Linked DNA regions of Homo sapiens: regions 2, 3 and 4 are each linked to region 1. The links are contacts of gene promoters, found by promoter capture Hi-C in blood cells and fetal thymus (Javierre and others, 2016). All regions are on one chromosome and are shown on one strand. The core of a region is centred on a gene start or on the middle of the fragment in contact, and the rest is flanking DNA. Distances in the headings are between cores, read along the strand shown. Region 1 holds the start of MRPS17 (mitochondrial ribosomal protein S17). Region 2 has its middle 47 kb from the start of VOPP1-DT. Region 3 has its middle 66 kb from the start of VOPP1-DT. Region 4 has its middle 89 kb from the start of VOPP1-DT.

Region 1 (2,964 bases), core at 172-2,671:
AACAAGCCTGGTCACTCTCACTTTAGCAGTCTTTTGCATTTTTGTCCCAATCACCTTCCCCACAATCCATCTGGCATGGACGGATGAGCGAACTACGGACATTACGTGGCTTTGGTCACCTGAAAAGCAAATTCCAAAGTCTCATATTCTGGTGGTTATGATGCCACATGAATTTTGTCACAAGAACTGTCCAGGTTAGTCCAGAAACAGTTTTTTTCTTTTTCGTTCCCCCCTCCACCCAGAAACAGTTTTGTTTTGTTTTTTTTTAGATGTAGTCTCTCTCTGTCGCCCAGGCTGGAGTGCGGTGGTGCGATCTTGGCTCACTGCAAACGCCGCCTCCTGGGTTCACGCCATTCTCCTGCCTCAGCCTCCCGAGCAGCTGGGACTACAGGCGCCCGCCACAACGCCCGGCTAATTTTTTTGTATTTTTAGTAGAGATGGAGTTTCACCGTGTTAGCCAGGATGGTCTTGATCTCCTGACCTCGTGATCCGCCCGCCTCGGCCTCCCAGAGTGCTAGGATTACAGGCGTGAGCCACCGCGCCCGGCCATATGTATTTTTCTTTAGATGAAGTTTAGTTCTTTCGCCCAGTCTGGAGTGAAGTGGCGCGATCTCGGCTCACTGCAACCTCCGCCTCCCGGGTTCAAGCGATTCTTCTCCCTCAGCCTCCCGAGTAGCCGGGACTACAGGCCCGCACCACCACGCCGAGCTAATTTTTGTATTTTTAGTAAAGACAGAGTTTCACCATGTTGGCCAGACTGGTCTCGAACTCCTGACCTCAGGTGATCCGCCCGCCTCAAGCCTCCCAAAGTGCTGGGATTAAGAGGCGTGAGCCACCGCGCCCGGCTTGAATCACCATTTCAGAGATGCTTACACGTTCCCCACTACCCAACCTCTCATCTTTACAGCGCTTACAAAGCGGTAACTTTAACTTCGCCAAGCCTCACGTTCCCCTTCTGCAAAATGGGCAGGCCTATTTCGCAGGAGTGCTTTGAGAATTTGACCCACAGAACGCTCAATACCACGGACAAACGCTGGACGTTACTGGTCCCTTATCTCTCTCCACCCCGCTGGGTCGCCTCTCCCCACAGGCTCAGTGCCCAGGTAGCACTCGGCGGGGCCGCCGCGGTGTCCCCCTCCCCGGCCCAGCGACGGATGACTTGGGCTGCTTTTGAGATCAGTTCACAAGCCATTCCACCAGGCTTCGGAAAGGTTGGGGTGATTCGTGCCCTCGCCCCAGACAACCCCGAGGTCAGACGAAGCGATTCGCTCTCAGGGCTCTCACGCGAGGGTGCCTTGGGTCCCCAGCAAATCCTCCCCCGGCAGCAATACCCCGGAGCCTGCCCTCACCTCCACCACGAGACTCACCTCCGCCAAGACTATGCAGCCACCTGCCCCGGGGAGCGCCGGTCGCAGCGGGATGGCGTCACGCCGTACGCATTGGCTCAGTCCCACACTACCCCTCTCGTAGGCCGTGCATCTCCTTAGCCGTGGGCGGAGTTAAAGGCAGGACCCCGCCCACTCTCCCTTAAAGGGACCCGCGGCGGTGGCGGGGTCGGGGGCGCTGACCTCTGGTTTCCTAACGCGCGCAGCTAGTGGACAGTGGCGCAGGAGGTTTCGGACTTTTCTTTCATTCTTTTGTTTTGTTTCTTTTTTTTTTTTTTTTTTTTGAGACGGAGTCTCGCTCTGTCGCCCAGGCTGGTGTGCAGTGGCGCGATCTCTGCTCACTGCAACCTCTGCCTCCCGGGTTCAAGCGATTCTTCTGCCTCAACCTCCCAAGTAGCTGGGATTACAGGCGTGCACCACCATGCCCAGCTAATTTTTGTATTTTTAGTAGAGACAGGGTTTCACATGTTGGCCAGGCTGGTCTCGAACTCCTGGCCTTAAGTGATCCAACCACTTTGGCCTTTCAAAGTGTTGGAATTACAGGCGTGAGCCACCGTGCCTGGCCTAAAAGTGTTTTTTTTTTTTTTTTTTTTGAGACAGGGTCTCACTCTTGTTGCCCAGGCTGGAGTGCAGTGGCATGATCTTGACTCACTGCAACCTCTGCCTCCTGGGTTTAAGGGATTCTCCTGCCTCAGCCTCCTGAGTAGCTGGGACTACAGGCATCTGGCACCACGTCCAGCTAATTTTTTTTATTTTTAGTAGAGACGGGATTTCACCATGTTGGCCAGGCTGTTCTTGAACTCTTGGCCTCAAGTGATCCACCTATTTCGGACTCCCAAAGTTCTGGGATTACAGGCATGAGCCACTGTGCCTGGCTGGTCCAGATTTACCTATACTTTCCCTGACCAGTTATTGTATCAGAAGTTTTTCAAACGAAAAATATCAGTGGGGAGTGGTACTTAGCAACAAAGCTCTGAGTGCTAGGTGAGCAACTTGCTACTGGGATTTTCCTGCCTGTAGGCTATTTCAGCAGATGTAGCTATCGATACATTGAAACATACACACACGCACACACACACCTACCTTTAAACAGCAGTGGGTTTCTTTCTTTTTTGGGACGGAGGCTGTCTCTGTCGCCCAGGCTGGAGTGCACTGGCGCGATCTCGGCTCACTGCAAGCTCCGCCTCCCGGGTTCACGCCATTCTCCTGCCTCAGCCTTCCGAGTAGCTGGGACTACAGGCGCCTGCCACCAGGCCGGCTAATTTTTTGTATTTTTTTTAGTGGAGACGGGGTTTCACCGTGTAAGCCAGGATGGTCTCGATCTCCTGACCTCGTGATCCGCCCGTCTCGGCTTCCCAAAGTGCTGGGATTACAGGCATGAGCCACCAGTGGGTTTCTTCTTTTGCTTCACCAGTTCCGTATTTTTATCTCCTTTCTTCCACAGTTAGAACTCTGGTCCCTACCCCGACAACATCAATGATTAATGCTAAATCCTATAGTATACACTATATGCTTTTGGAGTTGTACTAACAATATCCCGACTAAAAACAAACTTTCTAAGTGATGCGTGAGATTATTT
Region 2 (2,964 bases), core at 128-2,627, 330 kb after region 1:
TCTGGAAGTTCACTTTGGACCCTTTTGTGGTTACCAAAATGTTAACCTAAAATAATCAGGAATGTTTATTTTATTCAAGTTGCTTTTTCAAGAGAGTTTATTCAAGCACAAAGCTTAAGGATATCTACCCTGGAGTATAGATTCAAGTTGATTGAATGATTTCAAATTCAAATCATAATTTGTATGATATAAATTACACACTCCAATTAGCAATAGTTACAAGGGAATTTTTGAGGAAAAAAGAAGAGGCAGCTCCCAAATTTTTAAATTTATTTTTATTTATTATTTATTTATTTTTGAAACAGAGCCTCTCTCTGTCGCCCAGGCTGGAGTGCAGTGGTGTGATCTCGGCTCACTGTAACCTCCACCTCCCAGGTTCAGGTGATTCTTCTGCTTCAGCCTCCCAAGTACCCGGGACTGCAGGCACACACCACCACACCTGGCTAATTTTTGTATTATTAATAGAGACGGGGTTTCACCATATTGGCAAGGCTGATCTCGAACTCCTGACCTCATGATCCGCCCATCTCGGCCTCCCAAAGTGCTGGGATTACAGGTGTAAGCCACCATGCAAATTGTTTACCAAACATAACATAATTTATTGATTGGCTGTACATTGTTCTTTGTATCAAAAATTTCAGAAACATGAGTATAATGGGTGGGTCAGCTATTAAGGAACAAAAATGACTTTAAACAGTTGTCCCTGGGCATGGGTGTTAGGGGTAGAACTGAAGCCCCATACTCATGTCTCTCTGGGCCTAGTAAATTTTGCATAGCTCAGACTGTTCTGAGCTATTCTTTTTCTTTTCTCAATAGTAACAACTTAAAATCACAGAATTAACACTAACAAATAAGCTTAAGAGTAACAGTCTTAGAATCCGGTTTCAAATGTGTCTACAATTTATTTTATAATTTCATCTCATTTTAGAGTTGGAGGTACATGTGCAAGTTTGTTACATGGGTAACATGTTTGTTACATGGTGTGATGCTGAGGTTTAGAGCATGAATGATCCCATCACCCAGGTAGTGAGCATAGTATCCAGTAGGTAGATTTTTAGCCTTTGCCCCCAACCAAGTAACCCCCCAGTGTCTATTATTCCCATCTTGTCCATGTGTACCCAATGTTTAGCTTCCATGTATAAGAGAGGATATGTGGTATTTGATTTTCTGTTCCTGGATTAGTTCGGATAATGGCTCCAGCTGTATCCATCTTACTGCACAAGACATGAGCATTAGTCAGTTTTCACGCTGCTATGAAGAAATACCTGAGACTGGGTAATTTATAAAGAGAAGAGATTTAATTGACTCACAGTTCCAAATGGCTGGGGAGGACTCAGGAAACTTACAATTATGGCAGAGGCGCCTCTTCACAGGGTGGCAGGAGAGAGAATGAGTGCCAAGCTAAGAGGGAAGCCCCTTATAAAACAATCAGATCTCGTGAGAACTCAGTATCACAAGAACAGCATGGAGGGGAACTGCCCTCATGATTTAATTACTTCCCACTGGGTCCCTCCCATGACATGTGGGGATTATGGGATTACAGCTCAAGTGGAGATTTGGGTGGGGACACAAAAAACCCATATCCTTCTTCTCCTGGCCCCTCCCAAATCTCATGTCTTCACATTTCAAAACACAATCATGCCCTTTCCAACAGTACCCCAAAGTCTAAGCTCATTCCAGCATTAACCCAAAAAAGCAAGTCCAAAGTCTCATCTGAGACAAGACAAGCCCCTTCCACCTATGAGCCTGTAAAATTAAAAGCAAGTTAGTTACATCCTAGATAAAATGGAGGTACAGGCATTGGGTACATACACCTGTTCCAAATAAGAGAAAGTGGCCAAAATAAAGGGGCTACAGGACCTATGCAAACCCAAAATCCAATAGGGCAGTCAAAGCTTAAAATTCCAAAATAATCTCCTTTGACTCCATGTCGCACATCCATGTCATGCCGATGCATGAGGTGGGCTCCCACAGCCTTAGCAGCTCCACTCCCAGGGCTTTGCAGTTTACAGCCTCTCTCCTGGCTGCTTTCATGGGCTGATGTTGAGTGCCTGTGGCTTTTCCAGGCACATGGTGCAAGCGGACAATATATCTACCATTCTGGGGTCTGGAGGATGATGGCCCTGTTCTCACACCTTCACTAGGCAGTGCTCCATTGGGGACTCTGATGGGGCTACCAGCCCCAAACTTACCTTCTTCACTGCCCTAGCAGAGGTTCTCTGTGAAGGCTCTGCCCCTGCAGCAGGCTTCTGCGTGAACATCCAGGGATTTCCATACATCCTCTGAAATCTAGGTGGAGGTTCCCCAACCTCAATTCTTGTCATCTTTGCACCCACAGGACAAACACCACATAGAAGCTGTGAAGGCTTTGGGGCTCGCACGCTCTGAAGCAATGGCCTGAGCTGTACTTTGGCTCCTTTTAGCCATGGCTAGAGCTGAAGCAGCTGGGATGCAGAGCCCCTGTCCCAAGGCTGCATGGAGCAGGGGGGCCCTAGGTCCCTACAAAACCATTTTTCCCTCCTAGGCCTCCAGGCCTGTGATGGGAGGGTCTGCTGTGAAGGTTTCCGAGATGCCCTGGAGATAATTTTCCTCATTATCTTGGTGATTAATATTTAAATCCTCATTACTATGCAAATTTCTGCAGCTGGCTTGAATTTCTCCCCAGAAAATGGGGCTTTCTTTTCTATGGCATTGTCAGGCTGCAAATTTTCCAAACTTTTATGCTCTGCTTCCTCTTGAATGCTTTGCCCCTTAGAAATTTCTTCCACTAGACACCCTAAATTATCTCTCTCAAGTTCAAAGTCCCACAGATCTCTAGGGCAGGGACAAAATGCCACCAGTCACAGAGTCACCTTTACTCCAGTTCCCAACAAGTTCCTCATCTCCATCTGAGACCACCTCAGCCTGGACTTCATTGTCCATATCACTATCCACACTTTTGTCAAAGCCATTCAACAAGTCTCT
Region 3 (2,964 bases), core at 206-2,705, 310 kb after region 1:
CAATCTGACTGGCAGCAGACTTCTAAATGGCAACTGTCCAACCCAGGAGAAAGTGGGAGTACATGTAAAGTGCTGAAAGACTAAAATTGTCAACTGTGAATACTGTAACCAGCAAAGCTATCCTTCAAACATGAAGGGGAGATAGTGTTTCTCAGACAAACAAAAGTTAAGAGAATGCATCTCATCAGACCCATCTCACAAGAAATGCCAAAGAAATTTCTTCAGTCTGAAAAGAGAAAAACGCAAATGTGCAAAAAAGAAAACATCTAAAGTTATAAAACTCATTGGTAAAAATAAGCCAACAGACAAACTCAAAATTTTGTAACTGTAGTATGCAGTCCACTTATCACTTTAGTGTGATGACTAAAAGACAAATCTATGAAAAACAAAAGTATCTACAGAAACCTGTTAAGAGAGAAGAAATACAAAGATACATAAAGTGACACAATGAAATTCAAAATGGGGAGAAGATGAAGTGTAGAGCTTTCTTAGTTTATATTATTTTCTTTGTGATCAAAGTCATCACTTTAAGATATTTTTGTAATCTTCATAATCACAGAGCAAAATTTTCTAATAAATACACTGAAAATAAAAAAGCAACAAATTAAAACACAGTACCATAGAAAATTAACCACGAAGAAGAGACAGTGAGAAAGAGAGGAGTTACAAAACAACAAAGATACAAATCACAAAACGACAATAGTACTTATTTATCAGTACTTATTTATCAAAAGAATGAACTCATTTTTTCAATTGAAAGACATTGAGTGGATGAATGAATAAAGAAACGAGATTCATATATACACTACCTACAACGAACCGATTTCATCAATAAAGACATGTATAAACTGAAAATGAAAGGATGAGAAAAAATTCCATGCGAATGGAAACCAAAAAAGAGCAGGAGTAGCAATATTTATATCATATAAAATAGACCACAAGTAAAATGTAAACAGAGATAAAGAAGGTCACTATATGATGATAAAGGGGTCAATTTCGAACACCCCAGTGGAGAAGCTGAGGTCAACATCAGATTTGAAATATTTAAGGTGGATACAAAACTATTTCAGCAATGCAGACAATTAAGTGTGGTGTTGTGGGCGATGGTGCTATTGGTAAAACAAGTCTCCTGATATCCTACACAACAAACAAATTTCCATCAGAACATATGCTGACTGTTTTTGACAACTATGCAGTCACAGTTATGATTGCTGGAGAACCATATACTCTTGGGCTTTTTGATACTGCAGGGCAAGAGGATTATGACAGATTACTACTACTGAGTTATCCACAGACAGATGTATGTCTAGTCTGTTTTTCAGTGGTCTCTCCATCTTCATTTGAAAATGTGAAAGAAAAGTGGGTGCCTGAGATAATTTGCCACTGTCCAAAGACTCCTCTCTTGCTTGCTGGGACCCAAACTGATCTCAGAGATGACTCCTCTATTGAGAAACTTGCCAAGAACAAACAGAAGCCTATCACTCCAGAGCCTGCTGAAAAGCTGGTCCGTGACCTGAAGGCTGTCAGGTATGTGGAGTGTTCTGCACTCACGCAGAAAGGCCTAAGGAACGTATTTGACTAAGCAATATTGGCTGCCCTGGAGCCTCCAGAAAGAAGAGCCGCAGGTGTGTGCTGCTATGAACATCTCTCCAGAACCCTTTCTGCACAGCTGGTGTTGGCATCATACTAAAAGTAATGTTTAAATCAAACTAAAGATTAAAAATTAAAAAAATTTTTTGCAATAATGACAAATGCCCTGCACCTACCCACATGCACTCGTGTGAGACAAGGCCCATAGGTATTAAGGTGCCATCTAGTATGCCCCCTTCCCCCTCCGAGTACTAGTTAATTTTGAGTAATTGTGTATTGTCAGAAAAGTGATTAGTACTAGTTTTTGTTTTGTAGTTTGAAAAAAATTTTTTGTTTGTTTAAAAGCAAGACATACAGACTAATTGGAATTGTTGAAGCTGCTCCCTGGTTCCACTCTGGAGAGTAATCTGGGACATCTTAGTGTTTGGGGTTTTTTTTTCTCCTCTTCTTTTCAAGGACTGTATGTGGGGTTTTTTAGTCTTGTTTTTTTTACTTAATTAACCAGTGGATAGCCCTTAAGGGGAGGAGGATGGATTGATTCCCCCTTCCACTTTCTAGATCTAGTTTAGAAAACATATTCCCCATCTGGTGCTCTTAGGAAGGAGTATAGTAAATGCCTCATTTAATAACATACTCCTTTTTGAAAGTTGCCCGTTCTCTCCACCCTGGAGTAGGTCCAGTATTTGATGAAACTCATGAAAGTGGGTGGAGCCTGTCTAGTCCCGCCTCTTTTCTAGGACACACTATATGTGATTGTGACTTTCAAGGACATTTGTTTGCCATTTGCTGATTTTTGGGGGAAGTTAATTTCTAACTTCTTTCACTGATAAATGAAGAAAAGTATTGCACCTTTGAAATACACCAAATGAATTGAGTTTGTAATTTAAAAAAGTTTTTCCCTGTCAAAAAAAGGGGGTCAATTTACCAAGAAGATATAACAGTTATAAATATATATTCAAAGCAAGAGCACCCAAGTACATAAAGCAAACATTAATATATCTAAACAGAGAGAAAAACTGCAATATATCAATGGTAGGGTACTTCAACACTCTTGAGGAAGGAACAGATTATTCTGACAGAAAATCAGCAACAACCACAAAATTGGAGTTAAGCTACACACTTGACCAAATGAGTCTGACATTTACAGAACATGTCACTCAATTGCTTCAGAGTACATATAATTCTCATCAGCATGTGAAACATTCTCCAGGCCTATATAATAGGATACAAAATAATCCTTAACAAATGCAAAAAAAAGTCAAAATTATATCAAGTTTTTTTTTAACCACAAGAGAAAAGAACTTGACAACAATAACAAGAGGAACCTTGGAAACTACACAAACACATGGAAATTAAAAACATGCTTCTGAATAT
Region 4 (2,964 bases), core at 212-2,711, 290 kb after region 1:
CTCTATCTCCTGACCTTGTGACCCACCCACTTTGGCCTCCCAAAGTACTGGGATTACAGGTGTGAGCCACCGTGCCCAGCCTCCCTTAAGAATTTTTTATAACACTTCTAGCAGTAATGAATTTTCTTAGAATTTGCTTTTCTGAAAAAGTTTTGTTTTTCTCCTTTACTAATGAAGCTTGGATTGGCAGGATATGAGATTCTTGGTTGAAATGACTTTTCTTTTAGGATGCTGAAAATAGGTTCTCACTTTGTTCTGATGTGTAAGATTTTTGTTGAAAAATCCACTGTTAGCCTAATGGAGTTCCCATGGTATGTCATCTGACCCTTTCTCTACCTGCCTTTAAGATTTTTCTTTCAGCTGGGTGTAGTGGCTCATGCCCGTAATCCAAGCACTTTGGGAGGCCGAGGCGGGTGGATTGCCTGAGGTCAGGAGTTCATGACCAGCCTGGCCAACGTGGCAAAACCCCGTCTCTACTAAAAATACAAAAATTAGCTGGGCGTGGTGGCGGGTGCCTGTAATCTCAGCTACTTGGGAGGCAGTGGGTTGCCTGGGTGGGCTGGTGCTTGGGCCTCCAGGTAGTGTGTGCTGGGATCAGAGGTGGCAGTGGCATGACAGTCCTAAGGACCCTGGGTGGAACTTGTGGTACCTACAATGACAATAGCAGTGAGGGGCCAGACCCTGGGTTGCATGAACGGGCACTAGTAATGGTGACAGCAGTCTGGCTGGGCATTTTCCTGGGCCCTTGTGTGGCACATTTGGGTGGGTTTCTATAGCCATGGGTGGGGCAAGCTTGTTTATGGGTTCACTGAGTGCACATGCAGGAGCCTTTGTCAGTGGCTGGTGGGGCAGCCCTGTCCTCAGGCCCTGGAGGACATGTGTGGGTGCCAGTGGGGCAATGGAATTGTTCTCAGGCCCTTGACAGTGTGTATGGACACTTATAGAAATAGGGATGCCAATCCTCAGGCTCCCAGAATACAGGTACTTGTGGTGATAGTGGTGGATGGGGCAGACTTGTCTTCAGGCCCCAGAATGCACATATAGGCCTGGGTGGGATGGGCTCCTCCTTCAGGCCCTGGACGGCATATGTAGGCACTGGCAGCAATAGTGGCAGTGGCAAGCAAGGTGACCTTGTCTTCAGGCTCCCATATGGCTCACACAGGCACTGCCCCTGGTGGGTTGGGCAGGCTGGCTTTCAGGATTTAGGATGGTGCACATGCGTGAGTCAGTCCTCAGGCCTCCTGAAGGTGTGCACAGGTGTGCAGCAGTGCTGCCGCTGGAGGGGACAGGGTTGCGTTGGTGGTCATGGCCTCAGTCAGGTGGCTCTCAGGCTCTAGGAGCACATACTTAGGATTCCTTTGTCCTAGAGTACCTTTTCTGGTGGGCCGGACCAACTATTTCCAAGGGTGTAGGGTGCTGCAAGGTTAGGGTTTTGGGGACCCAGCCACATCAGGTGTTGTGGGTCCAGCTGGTGCATGATGCCGCAAGTCCTCTCTGTGAATGTTGTGAAATGTCAGCGGTGCTCCACTGAATGTGGAGATGCAGGGGCTGTTGGGTCTCTGGGCAGGATGTAGTCTGGTAGTAGGGGGCGGTTTGGGCTCTTAAACTGATGCTGATTTAGGTGCCACAGCTTCAGTCTCAGGGTGAGTGGGACAGGCTTCCACTAACAGTTTCTTTGAAGCCCTTTCAGTGTTCATTATTCTTCTCTAGGTCTTTTCAGCCTCTACCTAGCTCCTGGCCCAATGGTATCCTGCCAGGTTTTAGTAGTATCTTTTAATGGCAGTAGCCCATATTTAGTGTCAGTATCTGTATCAGTTATCTATTGCTGTGTAATACACCACCTCAAAATTCATTGTCTCAAGACAGTATCTATTTTGTTCACAATTTGCAGTTTTAGGCAAGGCTCAGTGGGGCTATCTCACTTTCTATGGTATCAGATGAAGTGACTTGAAACTTAGACTAGAATCATTGAAAATATTAAAGTCCTGTTGATTTGCCTGTGTGGCAGATGAAGCTGGCTTTTGGCTGGGAAGTGAAGCTGGGGCAGTCAGCTGGAACACCTACATGAGGATTCATCATTTGGCTCAGTCTTCCTTACATTGTGGTGGCTGGATTCTAAGAACAAGCTTCCCTAGAGAGAAAGTCAGGTGGAAGCTGTATTATAATACATTTTCTTATCCAACGTTAGAAGTCACACACAGTTCTGGCTGGGTGCGGTGGCTCACGCCTGTAATCCCAGCACTTTGGGAGGCCGAGGCTGGTGGATCATGAGGTCAGGAGATCGAGACCATCCTGGTTAACATGATGAAACCCTGTCTCTACTAAAAATAAAAAAAAATTAGCTGGGCGTGGTGGTGGGCGCCTGTAGTCCCAGCTACTCGGGAGGCTGAGGCAGGAGAATGGTGTGAACCCTGGAGGTGGAGCTTGCAGAGAGCCAAGATAGCGCCACTGCACTCCAGCCTGGGCAACAGAGCGAGACTCTGTCTAAAAAAAAAAAAAACAAGAAGTCGCACCCAGTTCTGCCATATGATGTTCACTAGTAACCAATTACCAATGCCAGCTTGTATTCAGGAGAGGGAATTTCATGGGAGAAATGTCAAACAATTAGTAGTGGTGCCACTCCACTTACCTTTTTAAAATAAAATAATCATTCCATCTAAAGGAAAATTATTCTTTCCAACTCAGTAGCACTGAAATTTTAGCAAGATCTTTTGTTATCATTGTTTAGTATGCACCCTTACTTTGTGTAAACTAACAGAGGATTATAAGATTGTGCTATTGAATTCAGACATTTTTGTTCAGGAAAATTGTATGGATCATCATGTTGCTGAACTTTTATACTAGGAGATATAATTGCTTCTTAACCCCAAGAATCATTACCCCTTGAAATGTAATTCAAATTAGCATAAAACATTTATAGTTCAGAAAAAGGCTTATAGCATTGGAATCCACATTTACAAGATT

Evidence for each region. The method cuts DNA at HindIII sites, captures the fragments that hold promoters and counts their contacts. A CHiCAGO score of 5 or more calls a contact.
Region 2: a fragment that was not itself captured here is called in contact with the fragment with the promoter of MRPS17 in region 1 in 2 of 17 cell types (naive CD8 T cells and total B cells); the score reaches 7.2 in naive CD8 T cells.
Region 3: a contact is called between a fragment that was not itself captured here and the fragment with the promoter of MRPS17 in region 1, in 17 of 17 cell types (naive CD4 T cells, M2 macrophages, naive CD8 T cells and 14 more). The highest score is 25.5, in naive CD4 T cells.
Region 4: a contact is called between a fragment that was not itself captured here and the fragment with the promoter of MRPS17 in region 1, in 10 of 17 cell types (neutrophils, total CD4 T cells, naive B cells and 7 more). The highest score is 9.4, in neutrophils.

The regions. Positions count from the first base shown.
Region 1 is chr7:55,950,334-55,953,297 of GRCh38, reverse strand. MRPS17 (mitochondrial ribosomal protein S17) reads right to left here and starts at 1,421. Exons shown (of 3, transcript NM_015969.3): 1 at 1,368-1,421; 2 at 1-119. The coding sequence starts at 102. RefSeq lists an enhancer at 1,309-1,368. The HindIII fragment of the contact is 16,512 bases long and covers 1-2,964 here.
Region 2 is chr7:55,618,643-55,621,606 of GRCh38, reverse strand. No RefSeq gene overlaps it. Among named protein-coding and RNA genes, the nearest start is that of VOPP1-DT, 47 kb to the right of the region's middle. The HindIII fragment of the contact is 1,040 bases long and covers 858-1,897 here.
Region 3 is chr7:55,636,951-55,639,914 of GRCh38, reverse strand. It overlaps the pseudogene CDC42P2. Among named protein-coding and RNA genes, the nearest start is that of VOPP1-DT, 66 kb to the right of the region's middle. The HindIII fragment of the contact is 6,021 bases long and covers 1-2,964 here.
Region 4 is chr7:55,660,534-55,663,497 of GRCh38, reverse strand. It overlaps the pseudogene LOC643348. Among named protein-coding and RNA genes, the nearest start is that of VOPP1-DT, 89 kb to the right of the region's middle. The HindIII fragment of the contact is 1,334 bases long and covers 795-2,128 here.